2 separate regions of the Homo sapiens genome follow, and region 2 is linked to region 1. The links are contacts of gene promoters, found by promoter capture Hi-C in human tissues and cell types (Jung and others, 2019). All regions are on one chromosome and are shown on one strand. Each heading gives the region's core, a stretch centred on a gene start or on the middle of the fragment in contact. The rest is flanking DNA. Distances are from core to core; before and after follow the strand shown.

Region 1 (6,542 bases), core at 1,024-3,523:
GAGCCTTCTTTCGGGCTCTCCCTTCCCCAGACCTGAGAGAGATTAACTGAGAGTCTGACAACTTGAAAAGTCTGAAAGAAACATTTACCACCTATTGTGTCTCTAAAGGTTACTACCTGTGTGGTAGCCTTTATTTGCCACAATATGGATAAACCTGCAGGACATTATGCTAAATGAAATAAGCCAGACACAAAGAACAATACTACATTATCTCACTTATACGTGAAGATGTGAAAAAGTTGAATACATAGCAACAGAGTAGAACAGTGGTTTACCAGGAGTGGAGTGGGGAATGGGGACATCAGGTCAAAGGGGACAAAGTTGCAGCTGTGTAGGATGAATAAGTCTAGAGATCTAATGTACCACATGAAGACTATGATTTTTTTTTTTTTTTGAGACGGACTCTCGCTCTTGCCCAGGCTGGAGGGCAGTGGCGTGATCTCAGCTCACTGCAAGCCTCACCTGCCGGGTTCACGCCATTCTCCTGCCTCAGCCTCCCGAGTTGCTGGGACAACAGGCACCCACCACTATGCCCAGCTAATTTTTTGTGTTTTTTGAGTAGAGACGGGCTTTCACCGTGTTAGCTAGGATGGTCTCGATCTCCTGACCTTGTGATCCGCCCGCCTCGGCCCCCAAAGTGCTGGGATTACAGGTGTGAGCCACCGTGCCCGGCGGAAGACTATGATTAATGTTAATAGATAATATTGTATTGTATACTGGAAAATTGCTAAGAGTAGAGCTTGGGTTTTTACCACAAACACATACACAAAATATTCATGTGAGGTGATATGCTAAATCTGCTTGACTGTAGTAATCACTTCACTAGGTACATGTATATTAAAACAATGTTTTACACCTTAAATACATACAATTTTAAAGACGCATTAAAAAAAAAGCTAGGATATTCCAGACATATTTTGTTACTCATTATGTATTCACTGCAGTGTGAAAAGCACAATGCAAAGGGGTTTTTTTTTTTTTTTTTTTGCTTTTTGTTTTTTTTTTTTGAGATGGAGTCTAGCTTTGTCGCCCAGGCTGCAGTGCAGTGGCTAGAGTGCGGTGGCGCGATCTCGGCTCACTGCAAGCTTCGCCTCCCGGGTTCACTCCATTCTCCTGCCTCAGCCTCGGAGTAGCTGGGACTACAGGCGCCCGCCATCATGACCGGCTAATTTTTTTGTATTTTTTAGTAGAGACGGGGTTTCACCGTGTTAGCCAGGATGGTCTCAATCTCCTGACCTGGTGATCCGCCCCCCTCGGCCTCCCAAAGTGCTGGGATTACAGGCGTGAGCCACCGCGCCCGGCCAGTACAAAGGTTTTTAAACAGATTCTCATTTAACTTTCACAGCCATCTCTGAAGTAGGTACTATTATCTATTACTATTATTATTATTTTGAGACGGAATTTCATTCTGTCGCCCAAGCTGGAGTGCAGTGGCGCGATCTCGGCTCACTGCAACCTCCGCCTCCCGGGTTCAAGGAATTCTCCTGCCTCAGCCTCCTGAGTAACTGGGACTAGCCACTACACCCGGCTAATTTTTGTATTTTTAGTAAAGACGGGGTTTCACCACGTTGGCCAGGCTGATCTCGAACTCATGACCTCAGGTGATTCGCCTACCTCAGCCTCCCAAAGTGCTGGGATTACAGGCGTGAGCCACCGCGCCTGGCCTATTATTATTATTATTGTCGTTTTTACAGAGGAGAAAGCAGGAGCACCAAGAGGTAGGATAATTTGCTAGAAGACCCATGGCTTAGAAAGGGAAGCCTGGAGATAAGGGGACCAGCCCTCTAGAGCATTGCTCAGCCAAAATACTTGGCCAAGATCACATCTCTGATACCAGGAATGAGATAACCTTTATTAAGTGTTTACCATGTACCAGGCACTAAGCTCAGTGATTTCTAAGGACATCATATAATCCTCACAGCAACCATATGTGGGTCTGCTGTCATCCTTATTCGAGAGAGGCTGAAACGGAGGCTCAGATAGAACAAGTACCTAGCTCAAATATTACTAGAGAAATGGGAAAGTGCAGATTCAAACCCAGGTCTTCCGACTGCAAGTCCCTAGTCCCCAGCCCCAGCTCCACTATATCAGCCTCTGCTAGGAAGAAAGCCGCTAACTATGGACTTTCGTCGCCGGGGTTTCGAGCCTAGGACACACCTGTACAGACCCCCGTTTGCCCCGCCCCTTTCCGGAGGAGACGTCCCCTCCACCAATGAGCGGCGCCGTGGGCGGGCCGCGGGCGCGCATGCTCTGGGCCCGCAGTTGAAGTGGCGAGAGCGCTCAGATACGCGACGCGTAGCAGGCGGGGACCGAACGGGTGCCTCAGTGTCCTTCCCCTCCCCTCGCCTGGCCTCGCCGTCCTCTCCCCGCAGCCGGACCGGAACTATGTGATCCCGGAAGTTCCGGGGCCTTTGCTGTGTGGGATAAACAGTAATGGCGGAGGCTGCAACTCCCGGAACAACAGCCACAACATCAGGAGCAGGAGCGGCAGCGGCGACGGCGGCAGCAGCCTCCCCCACCCCGATCCCCACAGTCACCGCCCCGTCCCTGGGGGCGGGCGGAGGGGGCGGCGGCAGCGACGGCAGCGGCGGCGGCTGGACTAAACAGGTCACCTGCAGGTAGGACGTTGCGCGGCGGAGCGCCGGGCGCGGGGAGGGGGCCGCGGGCCAAGCCTGCGGCGCGGGAGGGAGGAGGGCGGCCGGCCTGCGGCTAGAGGCGCGGGAGGGCGGGGACCGGCGTTGTCTCGATCTCTGCAGCCCTCGCGGCCCCCGCTGCCGCCGCGTTCCCCCAGTCACTGCGTCAACCCCCGCTGGGCCGCGGAGCCCTCAGCGCTGTCCGCGGAGGCCTGGCGGTGCGCGATTACTGCGGAGCCGCGGGGCTGCACCGCCGCTTACACTTCCCTGAGCGCTGCCTGAGCTGGCTGCGAGCGCATCGGGGAGAGGTGGGCTGGCTCCTCCCCTGCCGCTGGAAGGATGCCCCCGCCGCTGCCTCCGGCTCCCGGGGCTCGGGAGGTGGTCACTTGAGGCCGGTCTCCCAGCGATCCTCTCCGGGCCTAGACACCCCGCCGAGGGCCCCAGCGAGCTTGCCTGGCTCCCGGCCCTCTCCTCTCTCCGTGCCATCCGTTTGTAACGTCTTTTCACGTCCCTCCGTCCCTCCGCCCCCCATCCTCCGCCCAACTGTGAGAAGAAGCTTTTGTATTTCTTCTTTGTATGTTTGTCGAGGTTGGCGGTGCTGAGCTTTGTCTTAGAAGCAGGCGTTCGGGGGCCGGGGTCGTCTTCTCCACCCGCGGTTTTTTTGAGCTGCAGATTATTACCCTCCCCCAGCGCTATGTTCCTCTTTTGAAATTTACGCATCTTCCGAAGGGAGTGAAAGGGCTCTTCGCTCCCGGAAGAGAGAGAGGTTTGGTTTTGGTTTGATATGCGAGACGAAAATATTAGAAAAATTAAGGGATGGCGGTTGTATGGATGTGTATGGTTGTAAAAAACTACCTAGCTCTACGCAGAAGAGGGCATTTAATTGTACGTTTTTTATTTTCCGGTTTTTAAATAGTGATCAGTAGCGACTGTAAGCTTTTCTTTTTCTATCAGTTGAATAAATCAACTGAAATGCCGGTTTTCACCTGGGTGGTATAATTTATATGCAAGTATGTAAAAATGATTCCTAATTAGAACTTGTAGTATTAAGGGTGAAATTTGAAACCTTCCCAGTCTTTGATGTGATACATTTATCCTGGCGACCTTCGAAGGTCTCTCAGCCTTTGATATGATACATTTAAGGTGTGAAGGATAAGCTTAATTATTTTACATAATGGGATGTAGAAAGCATAAACGCAATTTCAGGTCACTTGTCTTATTCATCGGTGGATTGTAAAAGTGGAATATTGCCAGGAATGATGATTTTAAAGTTTCTACTCATGGAGCAAATTATTTGAATATCTGTTTCCCTTTTACAATGCTACAGTTGATCTATATGTGCTAGTTACATCTTTTAAAAGATTGAAACCGGCCTGTCGGGGTGGCTAGGTCGGCGTGGTGGCTCACGCCTGTAATCCCAGCATTTTGGGAGGCTGAGGCGGGCGGATCGCCTGAGGTAAGGAGTTCGAGACCAGCCTGGCCAACATGGTGAAACCCTGTCTCTACTAAGAATACAAAAATTAGGCCGGGCACAGTGGCTCACACCTGTAATCCCAGCACTTTGGGAGGCCAAGGCAGGTGGATCACGAGGTCAGGAGCTCAAGACCAGCCTGGCCAAGATGGTGAAACCCCGTCTCTACTGAAAATACAAAAAACATTAGCCGGGCGTGGTGACAGGCGCTTGTAATCTCAGCTACTCCGGAGGCTGAGGCAGGGAGTTGCTTGAACCCAGGAGGCAGAGGTTGCGGTGAGCCAATATCACACCACTTCACTCCAGCCTGGGCGAAAGTGAAACTCTGTCAGAAGAAAAACAAAAAAGAAAAAGAAAGAAAAGAAAGAGCTTAGATTTACTAGTTTTTGGGGGTTTTTTGTATAGCTTTTGCTTGAGACAGTTTTTTATTGTTGTGCAGATTCCTTGATAGGTCTGGGGTTTTAGTGTTTGACATTGTTTTCGGTTGTTCTAGGTACCAACATGATCTCTTACTTAAAACTATTTTCTCCTTTAGATAGAGGAATGTCAACTATCATTTTTTTTTTTTTTTTTTTGAGACAGAGTTTCCCTCTTGTTTCCCAGGTTGGAGTGCAATGGTGTGATCTCTACTTACCACAACCCCCGCCTCCCAGGTTTAATTGATTCTCCTGCCTCAGTCTCTGGCATTACAGATGCCTTAGTAGCTGGGATTACAGGCGTGCACCACCATGCCCACCTGACTAATTTTGTATTTTTAGTAGAGACGGGCTTTCTCCGTGTTGGTCAGGCTGGTCTTGAACTCCCGACCTCAGGTGATCTGCCGGCCTCAGCCTCCCAAAGTGCTGGGATTAGAGGCGTGAGCCACCGCACCCGGTCTATGATCCTTATCGTTCACTTTGAGCTCTCTGAGAAGAGTAGGGCCCTATTTTATCTGCAGGGCTTTCTTTCCTCAGTTCCTCAGTTTCTTTCCTCAGTTCCAGTATCATGAACAGGATACTCAGTTACTGAGTATCCTGAGCAGATACTGAGTAAATGCTTGAGTGATGTTGATAAAGTCATATACCTAGAATTACCCACTTTAACAGGAACTTTGTAAGATTCCTCTGCTTTCATTAAAAAAAAAAAAAACAAAACTTGTAAATTACCAAAGACAAAGTACTTAACAGAACACATGTGTATCTTCCTTTTTTTTTTTTTTTTTTGAGATGGAGTGTCGCTCTGTCGCCCAGGCTGGAGTGCAGTGGCGAGATCTCAGCTCACTGCAACCTCTGCCTCCTGGGTTCAAGCGATTCTCCTGCCTCAGCCTCCTGAGTAGGTGGGATTACGCCCGGCCACATGTATATTTTTTCTGGAACTACCTTATTCAATCATTCAGTAAGTAAACATTGCACGCCAGCAATGGGAGACACAATATTAGGTGTTCAAGAGAGTGCAGATGTATGTACTGTATTATAAATAAACATTTTCAATATGTTTGCTAGGTAAACATCACCTAAAGAATCAGGTAGAGGTGTGTTTTAGTGTTTGTGCTCATTTCTCCCTATAGCACATCACTCCTGTATCTAGGAATTTGACTAAAGCTATTTTCTTCACTTAGAAGTTTTGATTAGAATGTTTTTAATTGCTCGGAATCACCTGTATTTTCCTACTGGTTACATTTTTTCTAATGTTTCTCCTGGGGTTTTCATTGTGTTTTATACCTTTCCTCAGAAACTGTGTTATGCTGCCACCACCAGGCTGTTTTTCATATCTTTTATTAGAGCAATACTAAGAAACAGAAATGCTCATTGCATCTGCTACCTTGAGTTACCTTGAGTGTGTGAGGTTAGAACAGTTAATACTTAAAGAGAAGTTGTAATTTGAATTTAGACCCCTCTTTATTAGAGTGCTTCTATAATGGCAGATAAGTGTTCTGGTAGTTGAAATAATACACAAAAAAACAAGTGTTTAATTTTTAATTTTTCAAAAAACTCTTTTCTTGATTTTTATTTGTATTTATTTGTATTTTTTGAGATAGGGTCTCGCTCTGTCCCCTAGGCTGGAATGCAGTGGCAGTGTCTTGGCTCATTGCAGCCTCCACCTCCCAGGCTCAAGCAATCCTCCTGCTTGAACCTCCCCAGTAGCTGGAATTACAGGCACGTGCCACCACCCCAGGCTAATTTTTTTTTGCATTTTTGATAGAGACAGGGTTTCACCCTGTTGCCTAGGCTGGTCTTGAACTCCTAAGCTCAAGTGTTTCACCCGCCTCGGCCTCCTAAAGTGCTGGGATTACAGGTGTGAGCCACCATGCTTGGCCTTGAAAGTTGTGTTTTGTTTGTTTGTTTGTTTGTTTTCTGAGATGGAGTCTGTGTCGCCCAAGCTGGAGTGCAGTGGCACGATCTCGGCTCACTACAACCTCTGCCTCCTGGGTTCAAGGAATTCTGGTGCCTCAGCCTTCC
Region 2 (6,600 bases), core at 3,206-5,705, 1.1 Mb before region 1:
TATTTGTGAGATGGTCCATCTTCAATTCTACTACTTAGTTCCCTGACTTATGTACTCTGGTTAATGGAAGAACTGCATCATATATTGAGCTGGTTCAAAGAATATTCTTAATCTTACAGGCAGCACTTTATATTGAAAGCATTTATTTAACTGAGGGCATGAGTGAAGTATAATAGGTTATTCCACTATTCTATAAGGACAGCTGCTTCTGGGTTGTTGGGTATCACATGATAAGACCAGTGATTCTCGTCTGCTATAACCCATTATTTAACTTGGGGTCCTTGGTTAGAAGCAATGTTGTCCAAGAAACTACAATCATTTATAAGACCTACCGTAAGTCCCCAGACAGTGGTTCTGGCAAAGCATGACCAAAACCAAGTCTGTGAATCCTTCATGGGGTCTTACTGTAAGCTGAGCTGTCTGTAGACACTGGAAGCATGATTAGATCTAAAGGACAAAATCAGATCATATCTGATCAGCAGAGGAATCTTCTCATGCTCTGAGCTCACTGAAACCTGGTAGCTTTTCATTCACCTCTCAAGTGGGTACTGGAGCACACACAAATCTTATACTTGCTGCCTCGAAAACATGTGCCTTCTTTTGGTAGAAGGTGCAGTGCACAGCGCCCTTCCCCTACTCTGATGCATTAATGCAGTGGACTAGCCAGTGTGATGTCTTTGGGATTGGTATGGTAGTAAAAGTCCCTTGTCCTTAGGGCCACATTGTTCCAATGACCATAGATCATAATATTTTCAATATTGAATATATCACTGTTTATTCCTTCACTGTTTTGTTTTTGTTTTGGAAATGGAGTCTCACTCTGCTGCCCAGGCTGGAGTGCAGTGGGGCTGGCACGATCTCAGCTCACTGCAACCTCCACCTCCCAGGTTCAAGTGATTCTCCTGCCTCAGCCTCTCCAGTAGCTAGGATTACAGGGACGTGCCACCACGTCTGGCTAATTTTTGTATTTTTTTAGTAGAGGCAGTGTTTCACCATGTTGGCCAGGCTGGTCTCGAACTCCTGACCTCAACTGATCTGCCCGCCTCAGCCTCCCAAAGTCCTGGGATTACAGGAGTGAGTCATCTCACCTGGTCTATTCCTTTACTGTTGAATGACTACCCATTAAGATTTTAACTTAAAAAATTTAAATAATTGACGTCATTTATTATAAATGTAGGGTTAGTTTTTAAAACTAGAATTAATGAATCAGAGGAAATATATTTGAGGTTCCAGATGCATTTTTCCAAATTTTTTAATTAAAAGCTTATAACCAATTTATGTTCCCACTATCTTCACTGGATAGTGCCTCTCATAGCACCCTTGCCATCAATAAGTATTGTTTTGCCCAATGTCTACTTATTTAATTGCTGGGAAAATAGTATTTCATTTTTTCAGTTTAAATTTCTTTGGTTATGAGTAAAACTATTTTTTCATCTATCCAGCCATTTTCCTCTTCCATAGAAATTTGCCTGTCTTTTACTTGTATTTTTATTCTATTTTCCCAACTTGCTTTTTATGTTTATTTTTATTTTTAAAATTCTATAAACTTACCTAAATGACTAAAGGATCAATCATTTTAGAAGGATGATCTACTAACTGGATTCTGTTGATGTTTTAATGCTTTTCTTGTCAGTTTGATACATGCTCTTTATGTAGTAAGGATGGTAATCCTTTGACTTATTTGTTGCAAATATTTAGCACTTGGTTTACAATATGTTTCGAAATAAAAGTAAAGAAAAAAACCTCTTGAATTTTATGTAGTTAAATCTCAGGCATATTCTTGGAGAGTCCTCTATCTAGTGATCAAAATTTATTTATATTTTCTTGGAGTTTTCTATGGTTTCATTTTTTATATTAATCTCTTAAAACTCACATATAATTATTGTTCTGTATCAAAATGTACCCAAATCTGTCCAACCTTAAGGTCTTCACTGAAGCCATTCCATTCACTTATCACCTAACTCCTTCTCACCTTCCTCCTCTCAGCTGAAAGGTGGCTTCACTCAAGAGACCTTCCCTGAGCCATCTGTTTAAATTAGGTTCCTTCTGTTGCCCTCTTTAATAGATTCCTTAACCTGTATGGCATTCATAATAATCTGTAATTATGTATTTAGTTCTTTAATTGTTTAATGCCCCCCATCTACTGTATTCTAAATTATATGAGAGCAGAAACAGTATTATTCTTTCTTACAGAATATCCATATCTTTATTTATAAAGTGCCTGGCATAAAATAAATAAAGGTTGAATGATTGAATGAGCCATGAACTTCCTTTGCTTTCTGCCCTCCCACATACAAAATTACATTTGTCTTTGTTCAAACTTAATAGTACAACCACTTTCCTCTGCTGCAGACTCAGGGAGCTTATGTTCACTCCTCCCATCCACAGCTCATCCATCCACCCGTGCTTGGGATGGCACCCCCATCTTCCCGTCCCCGAGAAATCTGCCTCATCAGTCCTTTCCTCACTCTGGTATTTTCTCCCTCCATCTCCACTGTCTTTTCCTCTTAGCATATAAACCTACTCAAAATCTGCCCACTCTAACATAGAAATATACCAAAATTACCCCCTTTCTTCTCCTTGCATTCCCACTACAATTTTTAAAATAAATCTTATTGGCATAACATTTACATACAACGAAATGCACCCATTTTTAGTGTGCAGATTGATGACTTTTGATAAATGCGTATGTTCCTATACTGGCCACAATGAAGATACAGACATTTCCATTGCCACCCAAGTGTTCTCTTATTCTTTTCCAGTCAGTTCCTACATTCCCTCAGTCCACCCCAACACCAGCCAATCACTAATCTTCTTTCTACCACTGTATGTTAATTTGTATCTTTTAGAGTTTTACATAAATGGAATTGTACAATATAGAACCTTTTGTTTCTGGCTTTTCTCTCAACACGGTTTTTTTTTTTTTTAAGATTTATCCATTGTGTGCTTCAGTAGTTTGCTCTTATTGATGACTAGTAGCCCATTGCATGGGTTTACTGCAATTTTTTTCATTCATTCACCTGTTGACAGACATTTAGGTTGTTTCAGGCTTTTTGCCATTATAAACAAAGGTGCATTCAACATTTGTATACAAGTCTTTTTGTGATATATGTTTATGTTTTTATTTCTTTTGGGTAAATACATAGGAAAGTGATGGCTGGGTTTTATGTAAGTGTGTTTAATTTCTTAAGACACTGTCAAACTAGTTTCCAAACTGGTTGCACTCCTTTACATTCCTGGAAGCAGGATATGAGACTTCCAATGGCTCCACATCCTCACCAGCACTTGGTATGTTAGTTTTAAAACTGAAGACATCCTAATATATCTAATCATCTGTGGAAGATATTGACAAAGCATCTGTTGAAATGTTTTGCCCATTTAAAAAATTCTTCTTATTGAATTGTTAAAGTTCTTTATATATTTTAGATACAAATCCCTTTCAGATATATTTTGCAAATATTTTCTTCCAGTCTATGTTGTGCTTTATTTTTATAACAGTGCTTTTTGAAAAGCAAAAGCTTTACATTTGGTGAAGTACAATTTATTGATTTTTTTTCTTTTATAGTTCATATTTGTAGGGCCCATTTAAGAGTTTTTTGCTTAATGCAATATCATTCCGATTTCTCCGATTTTTTTTTTCTTGCAGAAGTTTTATAATTTTTATTTTTATTTTTTGGTTAGGTCTATTACCTATTTTAAGTTAATATTTGTGAACTGTGTGAGGTAGGGGTTGAGGTTCTTTTTCCCATATGCCTCTCTTCAGTTGTTCCAATGTTATTTCTTTTCTTTTCTTTTCTTTTCTTTCTTTTCTTCCTTTTTTTTTTTTTTTTTCTTTTTGAAATGGAGTTTCTCTCTTGTCGCCCAGGCTAGAGTGCAATGGTGCGATCTCGGCTCACTGCTATCTCTGCCTCCAGTATTCAAGCGATTCTCCTGCCTCAGCCTCCTGAGTAACTGGGATTACAGGCACATGCCACCATGCCCAGCTAATTTTGTATTTTTAGTAGAGATGGGGTTTCACTATGTTGGCCAGGCTGGTCTCAAACTCCCGACCTCAGGTGGTCCACCCGCCTTGTCCTCCCAAAGTGCTGGGATTACAGGCATGAGCCATGGTGCCTGGCCCAACATTATTTCTTAAAATGCCATCCTTTCTTCCACTGACTTACCTTGGCAAATCATTGAACCATGTATGTATGGAGTTTTTCTGGATTCTTTACTCTGTTTTATTGATCTGTATGTCCATCTTTATGCCAATACCATGCTATCGTGATTAATAAGGCTCTTTAGTAAGTCTTGAAATTGGCTAGTTTAAGTCCTCAATTTTGTTCTCTTTTCTCAAAATATTTTGGCTATTCTAAGTCCTTCGAATTTCTATACAGAGTTTAGAATCATCTTGTCAATTTATTTTTTGTCTACAAAAAATAAAACTGTGCTTGTGATCCAGATTATGTTGAATTTATAGACCAATTTAAGATTTAATCATTTTATAAAATTGAGTCTTCCGATTTATAAATATGGTATTTATCTCCATTTATTTGGGTATTATTTCATTTTTCTTAGTAATGTTTCTTAAGTTTAAGTGTACATGTCTTGCACCATATTTTGTTAAATATATTTCAGTGTTTTCCACTGTTTAGTACTGTTATACATGGTATTGTTTAAATTTCCATTTCCAATTGTTGATTACTAGAATATAGATATACATTTTTTTTTTTTTGAGATGGAGTTTCACTAATGGCGCAATCTCGGCTCACTGCAACCTCCACCTCCTGGGTTCAAGCGATTCTCCTGCCTCAGCCTCCCGAGTAGCTGGGATTACCGGCGCCTACCACTATGCCCAGCTAATTTTTTGTAAATTTAGTAGAGACAGGGTTTCACCATGTTGGCCAGGCTGGTCTCGAACTCCTGACTTCAGGTGATCCACCCACTTTGGCCTCCCAGAGTGCTGGGATTATAGGCATGAGCCACTTTGACCGGCCTAGATTACTTTTTTTTTTTTTTTTGAGACAGTTTCACTCTTGTTGCCCAGGCTGCAGTGCAATTGCACGATCTCGGCTCACAGCAACCTCCACCTCCTGGGTTCAAGTGATTCTCCTGCCTTAGCCTCCCGAGTAGCTGGGATTACAGGCATGCACCACCACGCCCGGCTAATTTTGTATTTTTAGTAGAGACAGGATTTCTCCATGTTGGTCAGGCTTGTCTCGAACTCCCGACCTCAGGTGATCTGCCCACCTCAGCCTCCCAAAGTGCTGGGATTATAGGCATGAGCTATGGCTCCCAGCCTAGATATACTTTTTTTTTTTTTTTTACATTCATGTAAAAAATGGATACTGTAACTTTACTAAATACACTTCCTTGGTATAGTACATTTTGTAGTTGTTAGGATTTTCCATGTATGCAATCATGTCATATGCAAATAAGGGCAGTTTTACTTTTTGCTTTTCAATCTCAATATTTTTTATCTCTTTATTTCTTTATATTATCAATTAGTATTTAAGGGGACTATTGCATAGAATTGGTGAGAGTAGATATTCTTGTCTAGTTCCTGATTTGGGGAGAAAAGCATTCTGAATCTCACCGTTAAGAGTTATCTTAGCTATATATTTTTCATAGGTGCTCTTCATCAGGTTAAGGAAGTTTCTTGCATTTCTAGTTTTCTGGGAGTTTTTATCATGAATCGTTGCTGTATTTTTTTGGCATCTATCTGTCTGCTCCTATGCTAGATTTAGGACTGGGATGAGAGTCCCAGTATAAATAGCACTGAATCCACTGGCAGAGGCTATGTGACACAGGAAAATGGAACAGACAAGCTTGGGGTTACAGACTCAGACAGTCATTGACGCTCTTTCTCCCAAACCTCCCTGAAGCTATTTGAAATTTTCCAGTTAAAGGAGGCTTAATTATTCCCATCACAAATACTCCTGAAGCACAAAGGACTCATAATATAATGAATATCAATTTGGTTAGATTGTTTTCCTAACATCAAACTGACAAGCACTGAGGAACTCGGAAGAGGTGTGAGAGGTAACGTTGAAACCCAGTAAGCCCTGGGAGGGGCAGGTTAAGATGAGCCAGCAGAGCGGGAAGCAATCCAAGAAGAGGAGAGAGATGTCAAAGAAAGGAAGAGAGAGGAGGCCATAGATACGTTTTACATTCTCATTGAGAGCCCTGGTGATAACCATTATGCCACTGAAATCCTGTTCTCCTACATTAATTCTTTCTTAAACAAGCAAGGTTACAAACAAGTATTTTAAAACAAAATTATGCTGTGAGCTGTTTTTGGCAAGTGTGCCCAAGGACTATTTTGGAAGACTGAATCCTCATTCAGTTCACAGCTATCTCTCTAGTCCAGATCGCTCCAATCAGGCTCTCCAGCATATTATCTTCCAGACCAGCACTAATCACTGTGTGCTTTATAGAGCACTATTTCAGAGGAGAGTTAATAGATATACGTACACACTCAAAAAAAAAAACCCCGAGAAAGAACAATAATTCCATGAGTGTTGCTAAACATGTATGTTTATATTAGAATTCAATAGGACTGTGGATATACAAATGAGCATAGTGAATTTTCAAAAGGATATTATAGTACACAGCATTGTA

What was found. The method cuts DNA at HindIII sites, captures the fragments that hold promoters and counts their contacts. A contact is called where the count stands out against the background at its distance.
Region 2: a contact is called between a fragment that was not itself captured here and the fragment with the promoter of MKRN1 in region 1, in 1 of the 25 tissues and cell types used here (mesenchymal stem cells).

The regions. Positions count from the first base shown.
Region 1 is chr7:140,475,236-140,481,777 of GRCh38, reverse strand. MKRN1 (makorin ring finger protein 1) reads left to right here and starts at 2,273. Exons shown (of 8, transcript NM_013446.4): 1 at 2,273-2,618. The coding sequence starts at 2,434. RefSeq lists enhancers at 926-1,836, 2,167-3,007 and silencers at 2,143-2,252, 2,543-2,682, 2,963-3,042. The HindIII fragment of the contact is 9,474 bases long and covers 1-3,379 here.
Region 2 is chr7:141,534,714-141,541,313 of GRCh38, reverse strand. The region is part of intron 1 of AGK-DT (AGK divergent transcript); the gene reads left to right. Among named protein-coding and RNA genes, the nearest start is that of AGK-DT, 13 kb to the left of the region's middle. The HindIII fragment of the contact is 4,128 bases long and covers 2,392-6,519 here.